Linked DNA regions of Homo sapiens: regions 1, 2, 4 and 5 are each linked to region 3. The links are contacts of gene promoters, found by promoter capture Hi-C in blood cells and fetal thymus (Javierre and others, 2016). All regions are on one chromosome and are shown on one strand. Each heading gives the region's core, a stretch centred on a gene start or on the middle of the fragment in contact. The rest is flanking DNA. Distances are from core to core; before and after follow the strand shown.

Region 1 (3,938 bases), core at 1,037-3,536, 650 kb after region 3:
CAGACTGGCCAACATGGCGAAACCCCTTCTCTTCTAAAAAAGTACAGAAATTAGCCGGGTGTGGTGGCAGGAGCCTGTTAACCCTTGGGAGGCTGAGGCAGGAGAATCGCTTGTTTTTTTGTTGTTGTTGTTTTTTGTTTTGTTTTGTTTCGTTTTTGAGATGGAGTTTTGCTCTTGTTGCCCAGGCTAGAGTACAATGGTGTGATCTCGGCTCACTGCAACCTCTGCCTCCCGGGTTCAAGTGATTCTCTTGCCTCAGCCTCCCGAGTAGCTAGGGTTACAGGCATGCACCACCACACCCGGCTAATTTTGTATTTTTAGTAGAGATGGGGTTTCTCCATGTTGGTCAGGCTGGTCTTGAACTCCTGACCTCAGGTGATCCACCTGCCTCGGCCTCCCAAAGTGCTGGGATTACAGGCATGAGCCACTGTGCCAGCCAGAGAATCGCTTGAACCCAGGAGGCAGAGGTTGCAGTGAGCTGAGATCGTGCCACTGCACTCCAACCTGGGTGACAGAGTAAGACTCCATCTCAAAAAAAAAAAAAAACTGGTGTGAATTAAATAGTATATATGAAGTGATTAATTTTGATGAAGAGAATCCATTTAAAGAAAGTAGGGAAAGAGAAGATGTATGAAGACACTGAGGAGATAGTCTGAGTTGGTCAAAAGGGAAATTAAGGTCATTTTCTCTGAGTAGTTGAAATTTTCTCCCATGATGTGATATGATGATGTGATTCTCCAGTGAGTGATGAGAGTCAAATGGAAGCTTGAAGATGGGGGAAGGTTTGGAATTGCTTTTTGGGAACCACAAGAGGAAGTTTTAAGTAAAGAGAGAAAAAAGTATAATGTGCAGACTAGAAAAAAAATATAGCACCACAGAAAGTTTACTGCATCGTTCTAGGATGCACAGCCACAAAAGGAGAAAGCCAGCTCTGAGGGGTCCCCAGACGAGGGACTAGAATTATGCATGAAACACAGGGCGTGATGACCAGAGAATCTGTGACGCTGGCAAAGAGTGCTCATCCTGACTGTGGTGTCTAGATGATTAGCTGAGCAAGATCAGGAGACCCTGGGGTACAGGAAGAGATTTTGTAGGAGGCTGTGGTGAGAATAGGGATTCTTGAAAATTCAAGGTTCAAGTTTAGCAGGACTATTTAGGTATTTATTTCAAGTTAATTGTCAGTCAGGTCATGTCAAGACTTTGAACACTGGCTTCTCTGAGAAATCCAGATGTGATAGTACTTGAATCAGTCTCACCTGGTCACACTTTCCTTAGTTGCTGATGTCATTTTTCTCTCTCACTATATGATTTATAATTGCATTTTCATTTTATATCTTCATTGCTTATATGTGCTTTTATTATAATACACTTAATGTTTTTGCAAACATAGGATACAGTGTTTTTGAAATGGATAAAAACTTCCACTCACATGGGCTCATGATTACCTCTATTTATTAAAATAATTAATATTCTTTTCTTATATCTAGATTGTGAAAGATGCATACCAAGAAAAGACAGCCACAGTTTATCCTGAACCGCAAAACAAAGAAGCATTTGTCCGCTCCCAGATGTATAGTACTGATTATGACCAGATTCTACCTGATTGTTATTCTTGGCCTGAAGAGGTGCAGAAAATACAGACCAAAGTTGACCAGTAGGATAATAGCAAACATTTCTAACTCTATTAATGAGGTCTTTAAACCTTTCATAATTTTTAAAGGTTGGAATCTTTTATAATGATTCATAAGACACTTAGATTAAGATTTTACTTTAACAGTCTAAAAATTGATAGAAGAATATCGATATAAATTGGGATAAACATCACATGAGACAATTTTGCTTCACTTTGCCTTCTGGTTATTTATGGTTTCTGTCTGAATTATTCTGCCTACGTTCTCTTTAAAAGCTGTTGTACGTACTACGGAGAAACTCATCATTTTTATACAGGACACTAATGGGAAGACCAAAATTACTAATAAATTGACATAACCAACATTAAAACTCATAATTATTTTGTTGACCATTTTGTTAAAATCTACTTTTCAAAAAAAAAAAGCTAGAAATGAATCTAGGCGTAGGTGAACTTTTGCTAAGCAGAAATAACACTACTTTGTTGCCTAGAGAAAGATAACTTCTCAAGTATTTTTATTCCAGTCCTAGATCATATATGTTCTTTTGTGCAACGGAATTCTAACAGTTCTAAGAGAAAGATCACTGCTGTTTACAGCGCCTTGTGCAGCCTTAGATTTTAATATTCTTTTGTCATTGTTACATCTCATAGAGTAAAGCTCTTATTACCTTGATCCTGAGTCAGAAATCCCACCTGAAATCACCTTTTTTCCCCCTTGATCAAACATCCCATCCTTCAGCTACCATACTGTTGCTACAGGGATTTTGTGGACTGTGGCCCCTGTCCCGAGGTTGGCACCTTCAGTTCAGCACAGCCTGAGCAGTGAGAAGGTCTGAAAGGAGAGTATATAGTTAAGATCCTTGAGAAAGGGCTGCCTGAGGAACTGACCTCTTAAAGATCTCAGGATCTTTAAGACAACAAGTTAGGTTCCTACTGGAGTTACCTGCCAGAATGGCCTCTTAATTAACTCAGGTAATGAAGAGCTAACTGTGTTATAATCATCTTGCTTTTGCCTGAATTTGGAGAAAGTATTATAATTAAGTTCCCAGTATCAGAAATGTCCTTACATAAGATTAAAATATCTTGATGACTAATACCATTCTATGAGAAAGAGTAGTTATATGCCCAGACTGTATTAATTTACTTTAGAAACTAATGTTTGAAGTAATGGAAAAAATTTTAAATTATAAAGCTAAGGTGCAATAACATTTGCTACTTATTTATAGAATTATTTGAAGAATTTTGTTTTTGAAGTAATGCTTTAAGGAGTATAAGATATTCAAGATAAATTATACTATAAAATGATTTTATTGAAAGTTGAAGGTTACACAAATTGTTTTAGGTATGAGCAGAAGAGGTTAAGGTATTTCTAAAGGTAACATATAGTCAAGAGTTTCCTCAAAATAGTTATTTGGAGAAGAATCAGAATGTCTGTGTATTTCTTGTCTGTTTCTATGTTGTCTTATAGCTCTGACTAAATGTGTTTACCTATGCAAAAGATTTATTAAAGCATAGAAAAGGTGAATGAATAAAAATATAAAATAATTGTCCTTTTTCTTAAAATGTTACATTGTAATGCTTGGTCTTGGGGTCATATGATTATGTGTGACGAATTTCTAAAATATTCTAATAACTGCTAATTTCAGTATAAACATCATTCATTTAAAACATATGTGGCTGGGCACAGTGGCTCACGCCTGTAATCCTGGCACTTTGGGAGGCTGAGACAGGCAGATCACCTGAGGTCAGGAGTTCAAGACTAGCCTGGCCAACCTGGTGAAACCCTATCTCTACTAAAAACTATAAAAATTAGCTGGGCTTGGTGGCTCATGCCTGTAATCCCAGCTACTTGGGAGGCTGAGGCACGAGAATCGCTTGCACTGGACGTTGCAGTGAACCAAGATCATGCCACTGCACTCCAGCCTGGGGGATGGAGTAAGACTCTGTCTCAGAAAAAAAAAAATATATATATGTAATCACATATTCTGGACACTGTGATGTGTGAGCCACTTCCTTGTCCTCAGGGAAAGATAATGAAATAAGCATTAGATAGTTACTTACTAGGTGTCAAGTATCCCACATACATTATTTTAATGTAGTCCCCTCACTTTCCTTATGAAGTTGATATTTTAAGTAACTTGCCAAGTCCACAGAATAACTGAAGAAAGTAAGCTTTACATCCATATTCATCTTTCTTTATAGTTTGTTCTCCTTTCCATAGGCTACAGTCTAGAACAGCACTGTCCCATGTGTAATTTTAAATTTTGTAGTAGCATCATAAAAAAAAGACACAGGTGGAATTCATGGT
Region 2 (3,472 bases), core at 881-3,380, 910 kb before region 3:
AGATTCTTTAATCCTTTGAATTCTATTGCTAAAAAAAATTCTGAAGAAAAATCAAGACACCATCTGGCTGCCTTTGGAAAGACAGAGGTACTTCGGGTCTTTGATCTGTTCTGCACATGGACTGGGAGAGGCAGAGAGGACCAAATCTCCCTGACACAGACAATCGTTTGCTTTATTAAACAAGTGTCTTGTATTACACACAGAGAGTATGCATTATGTGGATGCACACAAAAAATATGATGAAAAGTAGATACTAAGCATACTGAGTACTTTGGGTTTTGAATCATTAACATCACAGCTGTTTCTAATAATTTTTCCCTAAATGCAAGCTTATTTCCACAACATGTACTAATGTAACTGTAACTGCCCCAAAATGTTTCATTTTGTAAAAAATGAAGCCTTAGAAATAACTATGCAACTGAGAGTCCGTAAGCACTTTAGATCACCACCCTATATGCCTTTACTTTGCTTTTGTTTTTTTTTTGGTCAGCTATCATTCAAGATGGGGGCAGTTTGAAACAGTTGATTTACTGATAAACTTGTGAAATGTGCCCTTCTAAACAAAAAAAAAAGTGGGGGGGGCAAAAATAACTTCACTAATGAGAGAAGTCAAAGAAAGTTACAGGTGGAGTGTCCTGGGATTTTAAATGGAAATGCAATGGAGGAGTTGCTCATTCATCCACCACTACATGGAGCGATGATAACGGTAATGGGTCTTGGGAACTTGACTGGGAAATATCCCTTAGCTGGCCAGGGCTTGAGGATACTTGGCATTTTTGTTTGTCGGTTGGTTCGTTTGTTCCATTAAAATTCTGAGGTTTAGACAGAAATTCATAAAATAAAATCTGGGGTTATCTCACACTCAAGCGCAAAGAACATTTACGTTAATATTCCTTTCAGGTCCCTCCTCCTAATTACCTTTTATTTTTAATTGTTTCCCTCCATCCATGTGGTTGCTCGCTTTTCCAGATGGCTTCATATTTTTGTAAACGGTTGGGAGACTTAGTCTATCTCGTGGAGGTTCGGCGCACAGAGGCCAGTGCCTTCTTTAGGTCGCTTCTGAGCGACTCGAGACGGCCTCCCTCGAATCCGCAGCAAAGAGCAACAGACAGGGCTTCCCTTTCAGTCTGGGTTGCCATGGGGCACAGCTCCTGCTCCGGCCCAGAGTGCCAGAGTCTCCCAGGGCTGCTGCCTTCAGCCAGGTGGAGGGGTCAGCGCGGAGCCAGGTACAGAGCTCCTCCGAGCCTGAGACGGCGGGAGGTGCTGGGCTAGGCTGCGCCTCCCCAGGCAGGACGCCAGGCAGTGCGGCGGACGGTCCCCAGAGGGCGCCACGTGCCCCCGCCCGGTGCCCGGCGGCGCTCACCCGCCCGCAGCCCGGCGAGTCCAGCGGAACCTAATTGCCCATGAACCCCTTTCTGCGGGGTCTGGAGAGGGGGAGCAGGCCGGGGCCCGAAAACCCCCCATCCCACCCCTAAATCTGGGCGGACTGTGAACAGCCACACAGTGGGACAGTTAAGTGTCTCTGCCAAGCTCGGTCCTTCCCTCACCGGGATATATTATCCCGCCACCATCCGGCAGGCCGGCCGGGGATTATTATCCCCGTTGTAACGCAGAGGAAGTTATGGCCGGGACGCGGTCAGGGTCACGAAATAAAAACATGTGGACCCACGGCGCGAGCTGAGCTCTGCCGGCCTACCCCGCCCCCGAATCCTGTAGAGCCAGGCGAGGCCGAGGCCCTAGGCCCAAGGCCGGGGCGTATTCGGGTTTACGTCTGCGGGAGAAAGAGGTGGGTGGTGCGGCTGGCGAAGTCAGTGAGGGACCGGAGACAGCCGGGCCTGGAGAGAGCCGGGACCGGAGAGTCGGGGCGCGGGCGCCGCGGAGGCTCGGAGCCGCAAGGAGGCCCAGGCTCCCCGGGACGCGGCCACTGTACCTCCATAGCCAAAGCGGCGGGCGCCCAAGGCCAGAGCGCTACCGACGAGAAAGTCGGGGCCGCGCCGCCCGGGAACTAGAGCTCCTCGCGGGGACTTTTAAGTTTTCACTCACTAGGCTCTGAACCTATTTTTAAAAAGCAATTCTTTATTCAGATATGTAGAAGACTATGAATGACAGCTCCTTCTCCCCAACACCATTCCCGCCGGAGCTGCCCAGGTACTCCACACCTACCGCCTGAAGCGAATCTGCGGGCGCACGCACGCACGCCCGTCGCGCGCAGTCTCCGGGTTGGCCTCGCCTCATAGGCTGCCGGTGCAGTGCGGGAGCGCAGCCCGGGACACCGTTTGCGCGGTGGTGCGGTCTTATAGGTTCCAGGGTTTCTGAGGCTTTTGGTGAGCATTACGAGTTCCCCTTAGAGGAGTCAGGCGCCTTGCGGGGCTAGTGGCATGTGGTGGCTGTGGCTGCGCGCCCTTCTCGGCCGGCGCTCGGAGGCGCAGGCGCGGCGCGGACGCCCACACTAAGCTATAACCCTTGACGGGCTCTGAAACGCAGGCAGCTGAGAGGCGTTTTCGAGACAGCCGCCCCGGGAGATGATGTATTTATTCTTCGCACTTACTGTGCACTTAGCACCGAGAGGGCCGTACTTTGCACTTATCAACAGAAACCCGCGTTCCGCGCTCCCTGACTCCCCGTGGCCGCCGAGTGACGTGCTGCCGCCGCTGGCGCGGTTCTTGGGCCTGGGCTTTCCAACAGGTGGAGAGAGCTGGAAGCGACCGGTCGGACCAGCCCCGCTTAGCCTGACACCCACGCCTCGGGGGTTCGGGGGCGCGGCCGGCCAGGTCTTTCCAGGGAAGGGGGCGCGGGCTGGGCTGGAGCCGGGATTCCGGAGCGGGGGCTTACACTGGAAAGTGAATGCGCAGGCGGCCTCAGAACTCCAAGAAGCCGCGTTGTAGAGCTTCCCTAGGCGCCTTCTTTGATCTCTCTTAAAAAGGGTATCATTGTTAATCGCTGAGACGAATCTCCTTTTCTAGTGACTTAAGCAATCAGAGGGACTCGTCTGGGATCCAGATAAGTTGGGAATTGTTTCGCCTTCCTCAGTGCTTCCCACCCAAGTTTGCCTCCCAAGTCTTTTTTGATTTTACACACACACACACACACACACACACACACACACACCCCACTGGAGAATTCTCGATGATGAATTAATTAGGAGGTCGCTCCTGCGTGGGCTTGCCTTTCTCTCCCAACACGCCCTTTCCCCAGAAGACTCCGAACCCCTGGCGGAGTCCGATTCCTGCCCGGGCTCCCGCGGCGGAGCCCCGCTCTCGGACTGGGCGAACCCAGAGGCAGCTGAGTGCACCTCCGAGCGCTCAGCTTCCCGACGCCACCGCGACGCTGATTTATGGTCCAGTCGCTCGCTTGAACCCCAACGCTTTGGCTGGGTTAATTTTTGTCGATTGTTCCTCATCACACTCAGATAGTTTGTAGCTTGAGACGGATTTTATTTATCACCCTGCACATGTGAAATACAGTCAGACAT
Region 3 (3,673 bases), core at 541-3,040:
CAATATTATAACTAAATGCTGTTGAATGAAACAACACTATTTGAGAACCTTTTGTATAATACACGACCTTCCCAACTTGGTTCTATTTTCTCAACCTCTACCCATTTCATCCAAACCTGACTCAGTTTTTACATTCTCAGCATCATCTTGTTTCACAAAGAAAAGAGGAAGAAGACTGGAGTCTGACTTTTCCTTAGAATTGCACAATAATCTTATTTTGTTCTCTTTTTGGACCAAAAACTCACCTTTGCCATCGCCCCCTGTGTGACTTTTTGTCTTTGCTTCTAAGTTTTCTCCTTTAAATGGATGCTAAGAACACAGTTGGTATTTTTAACGAAGAAGGGCAGTAACTCATATTCTAATTCAGAGATTCTTTCTGGAAAGACTGTTATTCAGTCAAGTATTTAGCTTCAAGAAATAGGTCAAAAACCAATGAGAAAAATATACATGATTGGATGGCTAGATGATTGATATATGAATCAGTAAATGAAATTTCACAGCAGAACCACAACACAAGCCTACGCAATTTAGGGCAATATTTCTTAGCCAGTTTCCTTTTCTGCGAAATAGAGACAATAAAAGCTTTCACTTCAAAGGATAATTGTGAAAATTAAAGTTAATACATGCAAAGCACTGAGAATATACACGGCCACCCGTAAGTACTTAAGAAATCTCTGGAAAGCTAATGAAAACCACAGATCCCTGAACCTATATTCATTCTGAACTAGAATCAGAACGCCAGGTCTAAGTGGAGAAAAATAAGAAAATCGATAAGGGTTCCAAACGATGCTAAGACTCAAGAGTTAACCGAGTGGCCCAAGTTAAGTGGAAGTGTCACAAACGAAAGATAAAGATATGGTTACAGAATGAGGAACTAACAAATAGGAACAAACAACATTCGCAAAAGAACAAAGAACACAATTTTTATTGAATTCTGCAAATATAAAATATATCTGTACAGTATTCCACCTGTTGCTAACAGCAACTGTGCTCAACAAGAACTCAAGAGTATTATTATATTTGCTTCGAAGTTAGCAAGTGATACTAGTAGAAAAGGCAATGACAAAACAATCAGGTACCAGAGGAAGAAAGAAAGGCAGTATGTCTTGGATAGTGTCTGTAAACCTGACCTAGCTCCCCAACTCCAGAAGTCCCCATCCTTGCACGGACGGTCACTGTCGCCACTGCCAAGCCTTTCCCTCCTGCGAGGGAACCCACATCGAGTGATGTGGTACAACTCCTTCAGGCAGTGAAGAACAAAAGACCAGGGAGAAGATGAGGTTGAGGGAAGGCGGCTAATACCGAGAGCCTATAATACCGCAAACACAGTGCCTGGCTCTGTCATATAAATTTAAATCGCGGGAAAGGACTTGGAGGAAGGGAACGGATAGAGCGGGATAAAGGACCAGAAAGAAGAGGGACTGCTAGGGGAAAGGGAGGAGGTAAGGAGAGTTTAGGGACTGTAGACAAAGTGGGATCAGAAAGAGGTTGCAGGCAAGGACAGCAGGGAACGACAGCTTAGAGAGGGGTGCAGGAGCTGGGAGTTGGGGCGGAAGAAGAGAACACACTGCCAGAGCTCGAAACGCAGCGAGGGGAGAGACTCACGGAGCCACCCGCTTACCTTGCTACGCCCCCCGGAGGCGACACGCTGCTGCGACCTGGGGGCCGGGAAAGACTGGGAAGGGACGTTCAGCATCTTCAAACCCCGGCCCCGGGCCCTGCCCGGGGATCGCCGCCAGACGGGACAGCACCTCCAGCTCCGGCTCTGTGGCCGGGCAGAGGCCAAGCCCCCGACCCACTTCCGGGGTCGCCAGGGGTGAGGCGCATTCTGACGCAGCACGTCCGCGGAGGGCGGAGCCAACGGGACGGAGGGAGGGCCGGCAGGGAGGAAGTACGCATGCTCAGCTAGTTCCGCATCCCGAACTTCAGCACCGGAGCAAGGTGACAGCTATTTCGTGGAAAGATTAGAGAGTGAAGCTGTTCCTTAGCCTTGGTGCTGACCGAATGTGGGAACAAATTCTTAGTCCTGTTAACCCGGAACAGCAATGTCTGTTCATTGTTAAGCAGTACCATCACACTACTTGAAATATGGACTAAAACACACTACTTGAAATATGGACTAAAACGAATTTTAGTTTCTCTGAAATTCTTTCCTGTAAGGCACTAGGCTGTAATGCAAAGAGCATCTCACACCTTTAAGAGCAAAAATATCAAATGTCAACAGCCACTACTGTGGGGTAAGAAGAAAACCTCACCTTTAATCATCCTTAAACTTCACCTTTAAGCATGCTGAGGGCTAATGAATGCGCGAAAGACGTTAGTAAAGTCACCTTCTGCTCTATTCACCCACTCACAAATTCTCCCTCCTTATGTAACTTCCTGTCTTCACTGGGAATTGTGTACTGATGCAGCTCACCTCCAGCTGTGGTGATGAAGTAACGTTTAAAAGTCAGATTTGGTTTGCATGCCATCCCTGCACTTAATGACTGAGCTGTCTTATGCAAGTTACTTTAGTATCTCAAAGTCTCATTTTCCCCATCTGCATAATGGGTTTATTAAAGATTAAAGGATCATGTGTAAACTACATACTGCAGTGCCTGATTAATATTAGGTACTGAATAAGTGGCAGTGGCTGTTTGTGCTATTCCAACATATTAATGGGAAAAGGACCAACACTGTGCAGGTAAACACCAGGCTCTAATGCTCAAAATCTGATGGTTTTTGTTTGTTTGATTGATTGTTTTGTGTGTCCCTTGGGGAACACATAGATCTTGAGAGTAGAATCCAATAAGGGAGAAAGTTTTCAGGAGAAGAAACATAGTTCTAAATAATCCTCCCCATCCTCCTTTAATTACTAATTTTTCCTAACTCTGAACATATTGTCATGCTTTAAACTTTCTCTGTTTAACTACTTAGTTCTTAAAGTGCCTAAAAAATCAAGGTTATGTTTGCAGAATCAGAAGAAAAAGTGTGTGACTATATGTGGCCATTCAAATACAAGCATTCAAATAAGGTAGCCACCTATGACATTCACCTCTATCCATTTTTATTTGCAATTGAAATGCTTATTATGAGAAGACTGAATTTGAGCTAAAAGAACCTCATGACTATAATTAACTGTATTACTTTGACTTTGCAAATTGCTTCTGTGTTCTCTCTCATTAAATGATGACATATTCTTCTAGAGTCTACACAAGAAAAACTAATCACTGAGATTTATTTCACTTCTCGTGAGAAAACTTTTACATAAGAATATCAAAAGCAGAGAACCAGAGCAAGGAAAAGTTAATATTGTTGAAGAATGTTCCATGCTTTCCAAATTTCTTAGCTCCCCTTTGTACAGAAATGGAAGATGCTATCAACTTCTGGCCTTTAGACTCCACTTTTTTAGACTCCATATCAATCACTCAAATTTAAACGTTTTGTTTTAATTCTAGGGATCCCTCAATGTAGTACATTAAGTATTAAACATCCATACTATTTTACTACTGGATTTAAGGACTGAAGAGGAGTATTAAAATATGAGTTACTTTGCTCATCATTTATTTAAAATATCTATAATTTAAAAGCCCTAAGATTGATTCCCTTTTTCAATTACAGGTAATGATTTAATGTGTTTTTCTCCATCTGCTAAGAAATCTTTACTAATAAATGAGTGATTTCTAACATAAGT
Region 4 (3,493 bases), core at 445-2,944, 770 kb after region 3:
CCTTCCTCCCAGTAAAGGCCTCCCTCTTGCTGTGTTCTGAATCTGGTCTCCTCTTGCCTTCCCAAGGACTATTAGCTCAGGCTCCTTCAATACTATCAGTTTCTTTTCCTGTCTACAGCCTAAAGTCTACCCCCCGAATCTCTCATGGTCTAAAACTAAAACTAAAACTAAAACTAAAATTAAAACCCATAGCCTTTCCTTGACCCCCACAGGCTCTCTGGCTGCCAACCCATTTCTTTATTCTCTCATAGCAAAACCTGAAAGATTTCTCTATATTTGCTATTTTTTCCTTATCTTTTATTCACTCTTCAGACTCCGTGAAATGCCTATGGGACTGTCCCTCCAGGAAAAAAACCCGTATAAAAATCACCCATAATGTGCTTTAACCAAAGCCAAAGGTCACTTCTGTAGCCCCTCATTTTATTCAACTCAGCAGTATTCAATACCTTGTTTTTGGCTTCCGGGACTCTTCCCTCTCAAGGTTTGTTATCTCTTAGCCTCTTTTTTTCAGTTTATGTTGGCTTCTCTTTTCTATTCAATTTTAAATGCTGAGGTACAGCTGAGTCTTGAAAAACATGCAATTTGAGTTGCATGGGTCCGTTTCTTCGTGGATTTTCTTCCACTTCTACTACCTACCCAAGACAGCAAGACCAACCTCTCTTCTTTCTCCTCCTCTTCCTCTGCCCACTCACAGTGAAGACAATGAGGTTCATGAAGATCTTTGTGATGATCCACTTCCACTTAATGAACAGTACATATATTTTCTCTTATGGTTTTCTTACTATTTTCTTTTCTCTAGCTTATTTCATTATAAGAATACAGCATATTATACATATAACCTACAAATGTGTTAATCAACCATTTATGTTACCAGTAAGGCTTCCAGTCTATAGTAGGCTATTAGTAAAGTTTTTGGGGAGTCAAAAATTATACGTGGATTTTCGATTCATGGGTCAGCCTTACTTCAAGGTTCAATCAGGAACCCTCCTCTCTTCTTTCCCTTTAGGTTATCTCCTATAGTCCTATAGCTCCAATAGCATCTGTTAACTGATGTGTCCTAAATCTATACCTGCCACTTTTCCTCTTCTATTATTCTAACCAGTTATAGCCCACTCCAGCACACCACTGATTCCTGCTTCTATTCTTGAGAGTCTGCATAATTCATCCTCCACAGAGAAGCCAGAGACACATTATGTCATTCCTTTGCCTAAAACCTGTCAATGGCGATAGAGCGAGACTCTGTCTCAAAATAACATAACATAACATAACATAACATAACATAACATAACATAACATAACATAACATAAAATACCGCAAAAAACCCATCAATGGTTTTCCTCAAAGCTTGTCCTGGTCACCTTCTAGTCTTAATTATTCTCTAAGGATAAGACCTCTTCTGATACAGCAGAAACAGCAACATCTTAGCTATACCCTAAATACAAATATTCCAATACAAAGCTTAGAATAATATCCAAACTCAAATACACCAATTTTTTTTGCATTCTAGGCATTTTGTTCTTGCTATTCTCTACATTTAAAATCTCTTTGGTCAACTCTATGTGACAGATTTCTTCCCGTCCTCCAGTAATATCAAACCCTACCAAAAGTTCTTTCTGATCAGTCTAAGTAGCCTGCCTGGGGCCAAACTCTTACCACATACCCTATAACATCACATTATTTCCTTATTAGCATTTGTTACACTTTGAAATTTTCCTATTTATTTGCTTGTTTCCTGTCTATCATCTCTCAATGGGATGCAAATACTATGAAGTCAATAGCCTTATCTTAGTTGTTCATACCTGCATCGGCAGTCCCATAATAGTGGCTGATAAACAGTAGGGCCTCAAATATAATCTGAATAAATGAACTAATCTATCAACGACAATATAGTTAAACCATTTTCGTTTGTTTTTTCTGAGAAAAGCTTTGTAGAAGAAAAATAAAAAGCAGAACTACAGTTCTATTTCTTAACTAGTATAGTCACACTTGACCTTACTCTCCTCAAATACAGAATACATTCACATGGCTATTAAGTGCTTTAAAAAACAGATTGCCTAAGAACATTTATAAAAATGTGTACATTCCAGTTACACTTTTAAAAAACTGGCTCAGTTTAATCTGTATTAAACATAACTATCTAAATGTGAAGGAAGTCATTCCAGCCCTGTGAAAGGAGATTTAAAAAATCCTATTTAGGCTGGGTGCAGTGGCTCATGCTTGTAATCCCAGCACTTTGGGAGGCCAAGGCAGGCAGATCACTTGAGGCCAGGAGTTCGAGACCAGCCTGGCCAACATGGTGAAACCATCTCTACTAAAAAAAAAAAAAAATACAAAAATTAGCCAGGTGTGGTGGTGCGTGCCTGTAATCCCAGCCTCTTGGGTGGCTGAGGCACAAGAATCGCTTGAACCCAGGAGGTAGAGGCTGCAGTGAGCCAAAATGGTGCCACTGTACTCCAGCCTGGGCTACAAAGCAAGACTCTGTCTCAAAAAAAACAAAACAAAACAAAAAAAACAAACTACTTAGGTATGATACTCCCAGACGTCGAAGTCAAATCTTTTCAAATTAATTAGCTGCAAATCTCAAGCTGGAGAAAAATTTGGAAAAAGTTTTATTATACTTTATGTACTTATTTATAGTCATGCATTGCTTGATGGGAATATGTTCTGAGATGTGTTGTTGGGTGATTTAGTTATTGTGTGAACATTCATAGAACATGCTTAAACAGACATAATGGTAAACCCTACTACACATCCTGGCTATATGGTATAACCTATTGCTCCTAGGCTGCAAACCTGTACAGCATGTTATATATTGAATACTGTAGGTAACTGTAACACAACAGTAAGTATTTGTGTACCTAAAAATAGAAAAGTACAGTAAAATACAGTATTAAAACCTTACGGGACCACTGTTACATAGGTGGGCCATCATTGAAATGTTATACAGCATATGACTATTTATATTTTCACTTTAGGTCTCAGAAAAGCTATACGAATAAAAACCTAAGACACAAGAGGTTTAAAAGCCCATAGATCTGCCAAGGTGACAGTGAAGCTGATTTAACTTTACGATTTCTTTTTTTACCAAGTAAATATACACAAAATTATATACGTTATTAAAAATTGTCTCTGAATGCTATAAAATCAGATTCTTTCTCATTTCAAATTCTGTGATTTCTGGTACACATAGCAATATGAAAATATTAATTTTAGAAAATACAAAACATAAGCACCATTTATAACTTGGAATGAGCCATTAGCAGGTAGGTGGGATTCTACTTTAAGCTTCAAATGGCAAACAGCCATAATAATAAACACTTAAGCACATACCCTTGAGTTACAAAGGATCATCCTGTCTCCAAAGCATAGTAGCCAAATAAACATTGTCCACGTATTACTCAAGATGATGATAATAATCACAGTTGATACTGACTTACAAATTACTCTGTGCCAGGCACTATACTAAGCCCTTTCATGTGAATTATCTCATGT
Region 5 (3,758 bases), core at 675-3,174, 690 kb after region 3:
CTTAAACACTAACAGAATAATTCTTTATAAATAGGTAAGCCTTACACTTGTTAAAGAAATTTACCTCTAATTTCAGTCTCACTAATGTAAAATACTGGGACTTAAGTATACAATTCAGTCACTAACTGTACAGTTTTATGTGGGGAACAATTCATGCAGGCTACTGGAAAATTAAATCTTATTACCAACTCCTTGTGATATCTTTGCCATCACCATCACATGAGCAAGATGATGTTTTGCAGCATTCCCCATTGCTGATACAAATGGAGAGGGCAGAGAAGACTTTATACAACCAGTTTTTCCATTGCAGAGTCTTAAGAAAGATTATTAGATGACTTACCTATATGACTAATGCCATCAGGAACTCAGAGGTATGAATAGGGGGTTGTCCATCCCTCTTCCATACTGAGGTGGAGATGCTCATGCAATACTTTTAAGGATGCATGGTCCAGCCTTCAGTTATTCTTCACTGCTCTTGGTGAAGGTATGTGGGAGAAAAACTAATTATAATACGTTTCCCAGCCTCTGATGGAGAAGGAACACCATTCTGATACCAGAACATGGTTAATAAGGAAAAGAGAAAAATCCCCAACCAATCTTAATTGAACCAAGTCTGAAACCAATGGAAAAAAAAAATGGGTAGTGTATATTTTGCAGGTTTAAGACAACTCAGGACAATAAAAACAATGGACTTTACATGTGTATATATATAGCTCTCTTAGGCACCATAATCAGTATGAGCCAACAATATTTAAACTTGATTCAGGCCACATTCAGACATTTGCTCTTATATACAAATATTTAAATTAAATACAATCTGAAATGTGTTCTGTTACATACAAAAAAGGAAAAACTATACAACGCAGAGCAGTGTGTGTGTTTTAAATAATTACATTTACATGTAAGCTAAATGGAACCAGCAATGGTGCTCAAGTTTTTATCATCCCTTCCAGAAAATCTTTTTCTACCATCTCTTCTATTTTTTGCCTGGCTTTGCTGGAACATGGTTTGTGGTTCTCCAGTTTCATGTCCTTATTAGGGAAGGCATTTGAGTAGAGGATAGGACTCCCTGAGTGTCCTCCACATCGGCTTGTGACTTTGCTGTTGAAGACTTGACTGAGCACATTGAAGAACGGCAGGAGCTGCTCCATACTGCGCACGGTGCAGATGGTGAGCAGCAAGTGCCCTGGCTCCCAACCCAATGTTCTCCCTGAGTTGTCTTCCTCTGGATTTTTCTGCAGAAAACAAAAAGTGAACTGGTATTAATACAACAGACAATGTGGTATGTTAGAAAAATTAAAAATATATAAACTTTGGCAATTGGTCAAGAAATGAATACAAATGACATTAAGTTTCTAACTCCTGACCTGATCAAAACCCTTGGTGCTTCTGAGACCTTTTACTGCCATTTATTAGTTTTACATGGAGCAGTCTAACATTGTAGTAATAGTTCCCAACTAGAATGCGCAGATAAGCTTAGTTAACAGAAATAGCTTTGAACAGGAATAGAGTCAAACATAAAAGTTTTATGTTGTGCTTTGTATTTACTCAAAAAGCTCCCAGGTTTCTGAACCCTCACTACTGTAACCAAGGACTAGGTCACAAAATTACTACAGAAAAAAGGAACAAAGTGCTTTATACATTTCATAATATATCCCCTTTTATTATAATTAGTTAATTCCCTTTTATCTAAATGGCCTAAATTTGCCATGATGGTAGCAGTGTCCAAAGTGAATAATTACTGTCAGTACTGCATCACAGAGAAAGGAAGGGATCCCTCAGGAGACACTGCTGTCTCCTTCTGGGTTGTGCTAAACAACATAGGGAGGAAAGCTGGACCTGGAGTCAAAGGAATTGAGTTAGTGTGCTGGCTCTGCCATACTTACGGCACCCTTGGGCAGGATATACAAAGGTTCCTCACTTATAAAATGGGACAGTCTAAAACTACCTTTTAGTAGAGAAGTCAAATGAGAAGGTATGTGAAAACTCTGTCAACTAAATATAAAGACTAATAATTTGGGTATTAAGAGGCTAGTTTGAGAAGCCACCTGAATTACACAAACACAGCTACAGACATCATTCTGTCTAGAGAAAGATAAGAGAGAACAGGTTGGTTGAACTTGGGCAGAATCACAGATACAATTCCACACTAAAGAATGAAAATAAGCAATGAACTAGACAGAAGGAAGAAATCATGAAGACTTAGGAAGCAGAATTACAATCTGTCATATTAACAAATGGAGTTTGCCTTCTAAGATCAGATGTTGCTCAGAAACTTTCATTGTTTACCTAATAATTTAATATCACTAGTTTCCTAGTGGGTCAAGCAGATGCAAAATCCAGCTTATTTTCTTCTATGTGCTCTCAAGCTTATTGCTTATTTTAAAGTAAAATCCTGAAAAAGGAAAATATTAGGTTGGTGCAAACGTAATTGCGGTTTTTGCATTGTTGAAATTTGCCGTTTTATATTGGAGTACATTCTTAAATAAATGTGGTTATGTTATACATCATTTTAAGCATATTTCTCACTTTTTTTTTGCTAATGACTTATTGCTGTTTATATTTATTTTAGACTATGGAAATGATGTTAGACAAAAATCAAATTTAGCGATTTTCTGAGTTCAAAATAGGTTATAAAGCAGCAGAGACAACACACAACATCAACAATGCATTTGGCCCAGGAACTGCTAATGAACATACAGTGCCGTGATGGCTCAAGAAGTTTTGCAAAGGAGACTAGAGCCTTGAAGATGAGGAGTGCAGTGGCCAGTCATCGGAAATTGATAATGACCAATTGAGAACATCATCGAAGCTGATCCTCTTACAACTATAAGAGAGCTGCCCAAGAACTCAATGTTGACCATTTTATGGTCGTTCGGCATTTGAAGCAAATTGAAAAGGTGAAAAAGCTCAATAAATGGGTGCCTCATGAGCTGAGTGAAAAATAAAAAAATTCGTTGTTTTGAAGTGTCATTTTCTCTATTCTATGCAACAATAATGAATCATTTCTCTATCGGATTGTGATGTGTGCCAAAAGGTGGATTTTATACGACAACTGGCGATGACCAGCTCAGTGGCTGGACTGAAAGAAGCTCCAAAGCACTTCCCAAAGCCAAACTTGCTCCAAAAAATGGTCATGGTCATTGTTTGGTGGTTTGCTGCCAGTCTGATCCACTACAGCTTTCTGAATCCAGGTGAAACCATTACATCTGATAAGTATGCTCAGCAAATCAATGAGATGCACCAAAAACTGCAATGCCTGCAGCCGGCATTGGCCACCAGAAAGGGCCCAATTCTTTTCACGACAACACTGGGCCGCACGTTGCACAACCAACGCTTCGAAAATTGAACTAATTGGGCTATGAAGTTTTGCCTCATCTGCCATATTCACCTGACCTCTTGCCAACAAACTACCACTTCTTTAGGCATCTCAGCAACGTTTTGCAGGGAAATTGCTTCCACAACTAGCAGGACACAGAAAATGCTTTCCAAGAGTTCGTCAAATTTGGAAGCATGGATTTTTATGCTACAGGAGTAAACAAACTTATTTCTCATTGGCAAAAATGTGTTGATTGTAATGGTTCCTATTTTAATTAATAAAGATTTGTGTGAACCTAGTTATAATGACTTAAAATTCATGGTCCCAAACAGCAATTACTTTTGCACCAAACTAAAAATATAAGTTAAAATGGAAGAGTCTAGGAGCAAACCAAGAAAAGATCACCTACTTCATCATCTCTGGTCAAAAACAAACCAAA

The links. Contacts are between HindIII fragments. The CHiCAGO score rates a contact against its expected background, and 5 or more counts as called.
Region 1: a contact is called between a fragment that was not itself captured here and the fragment with the promoter of CYB5R4 in region 3, in 3 of 17 cell types (total CD4 T cells, total B cells and naive B cells). The highest score is 6.1, in total CD4 T cells.
Region 2: a fragment that was not itself captured here is called in contact with the fragment with the promoter of CYB5R4 in region 3 in 3 of 17 cell types (megakaryocytes, erythroblasts and fetal thymus); the score reaches 8.0 in megakaryocytes.
Region 4: a fragment that was not itself captured here is called in contact with the fragment with the promoter of CYB5R4 in region 3 in 1 of 17 cell types (total B cells); the score reaches 5.8 in total B cells.
Region 5: a contact is called between a fragment that was not itself captured here and the fragment with the promoter of CYB5R4 in region 3, in 1 of 17 cell types (naive B cells). The highest score is 5.5, in naive B cells.

What each region holds. Positions count from the first base shown.
Region 1 is chr6:83,209,644-83,213,581 of GRCh38, reverse strand. ME1 (malic enzyme 1) reads left to right here. Exons shown (of 14, transcript NM_002395.6): 14 at 1,488-3,180. The coding sequence ends at 1,658. Among named protein-coding and RNA genes, the nearest start is that of RWDD2A, 18 kb to the right of the region's middle. The HindIII fragment of the contact is 3,037 bases long and covers 768-3,804 here.
Region 2 is chr6:84,772,744-84,776,215 of GRCh38, reverse strand. LOC124901494 (a long non-coding RNA gene) reads right to left here and starts at 2,410. Exons shown (of 2, transcript XR_007059927.1): 1 at 2,164-2,410. RefSeq lists a silencer at 1,250-1,399 and an enhancer at 2,550-3,164. The HindIII fragment of the contact is 3,598 bases long and covers 332-3,472 here.
Region 3 is chr6:83,857,806-83,861,478 of GRCh38, reverse strand. It overlaps CYB5R4 (cytochrome b5 reductase 4), which reads right to left and starts at 1,790. Exons shown (of 16, transcript NM_016230.4): 1 at 1,622-1,790. The coding sequence starts at 1,696. All of the region lies in intron 3 of RIPPLY2-CYB5R4 (RIPPLY2-CYB5R4 readthrough), which reads right to left. RefSeq lists a silencer at 1,670-1,719. The HindIII fragment of the contact is 3,476 bases long and covers 585-3,673 here.
Region 4 is chr6:83,083,594-83,087,086 of GRCh38, reverse strand. The region is part of intron 1 of DOP1A (DOP1 leucine zipper like protein A); the gene reads right to left. Among named protein-coding and RNA genes, the nearest start is that of DOP1A, 18 kb to the right of the region's middle. RefSeq lists an enhancer at 94-243. The HindIII fragment of the contact is 466 bases long and covers 1,462-1,927 here.
Region 5 is chr6:83,165,339-83,169,096 of GRCh38, reverse strand. DOP1A (DOP1 leucine zipper like protein A) reads right to left here. Exons shown (of 39, transcript NM_015018.4): 39 at 626-1,235. The coding sequence ends at 930. PGM3 (phosphoglucomutase 3) reads left to right here. Exons shown (of 13, transcript NM_015599.3): 13 at 1-3,758. Among named protein-coding and RNA genes, the nearest start is that of PGM3, 26 kb to the left of the region's middle. The HindIII fragment of the contact is 894 bases long and covers 1,478-2,371 here.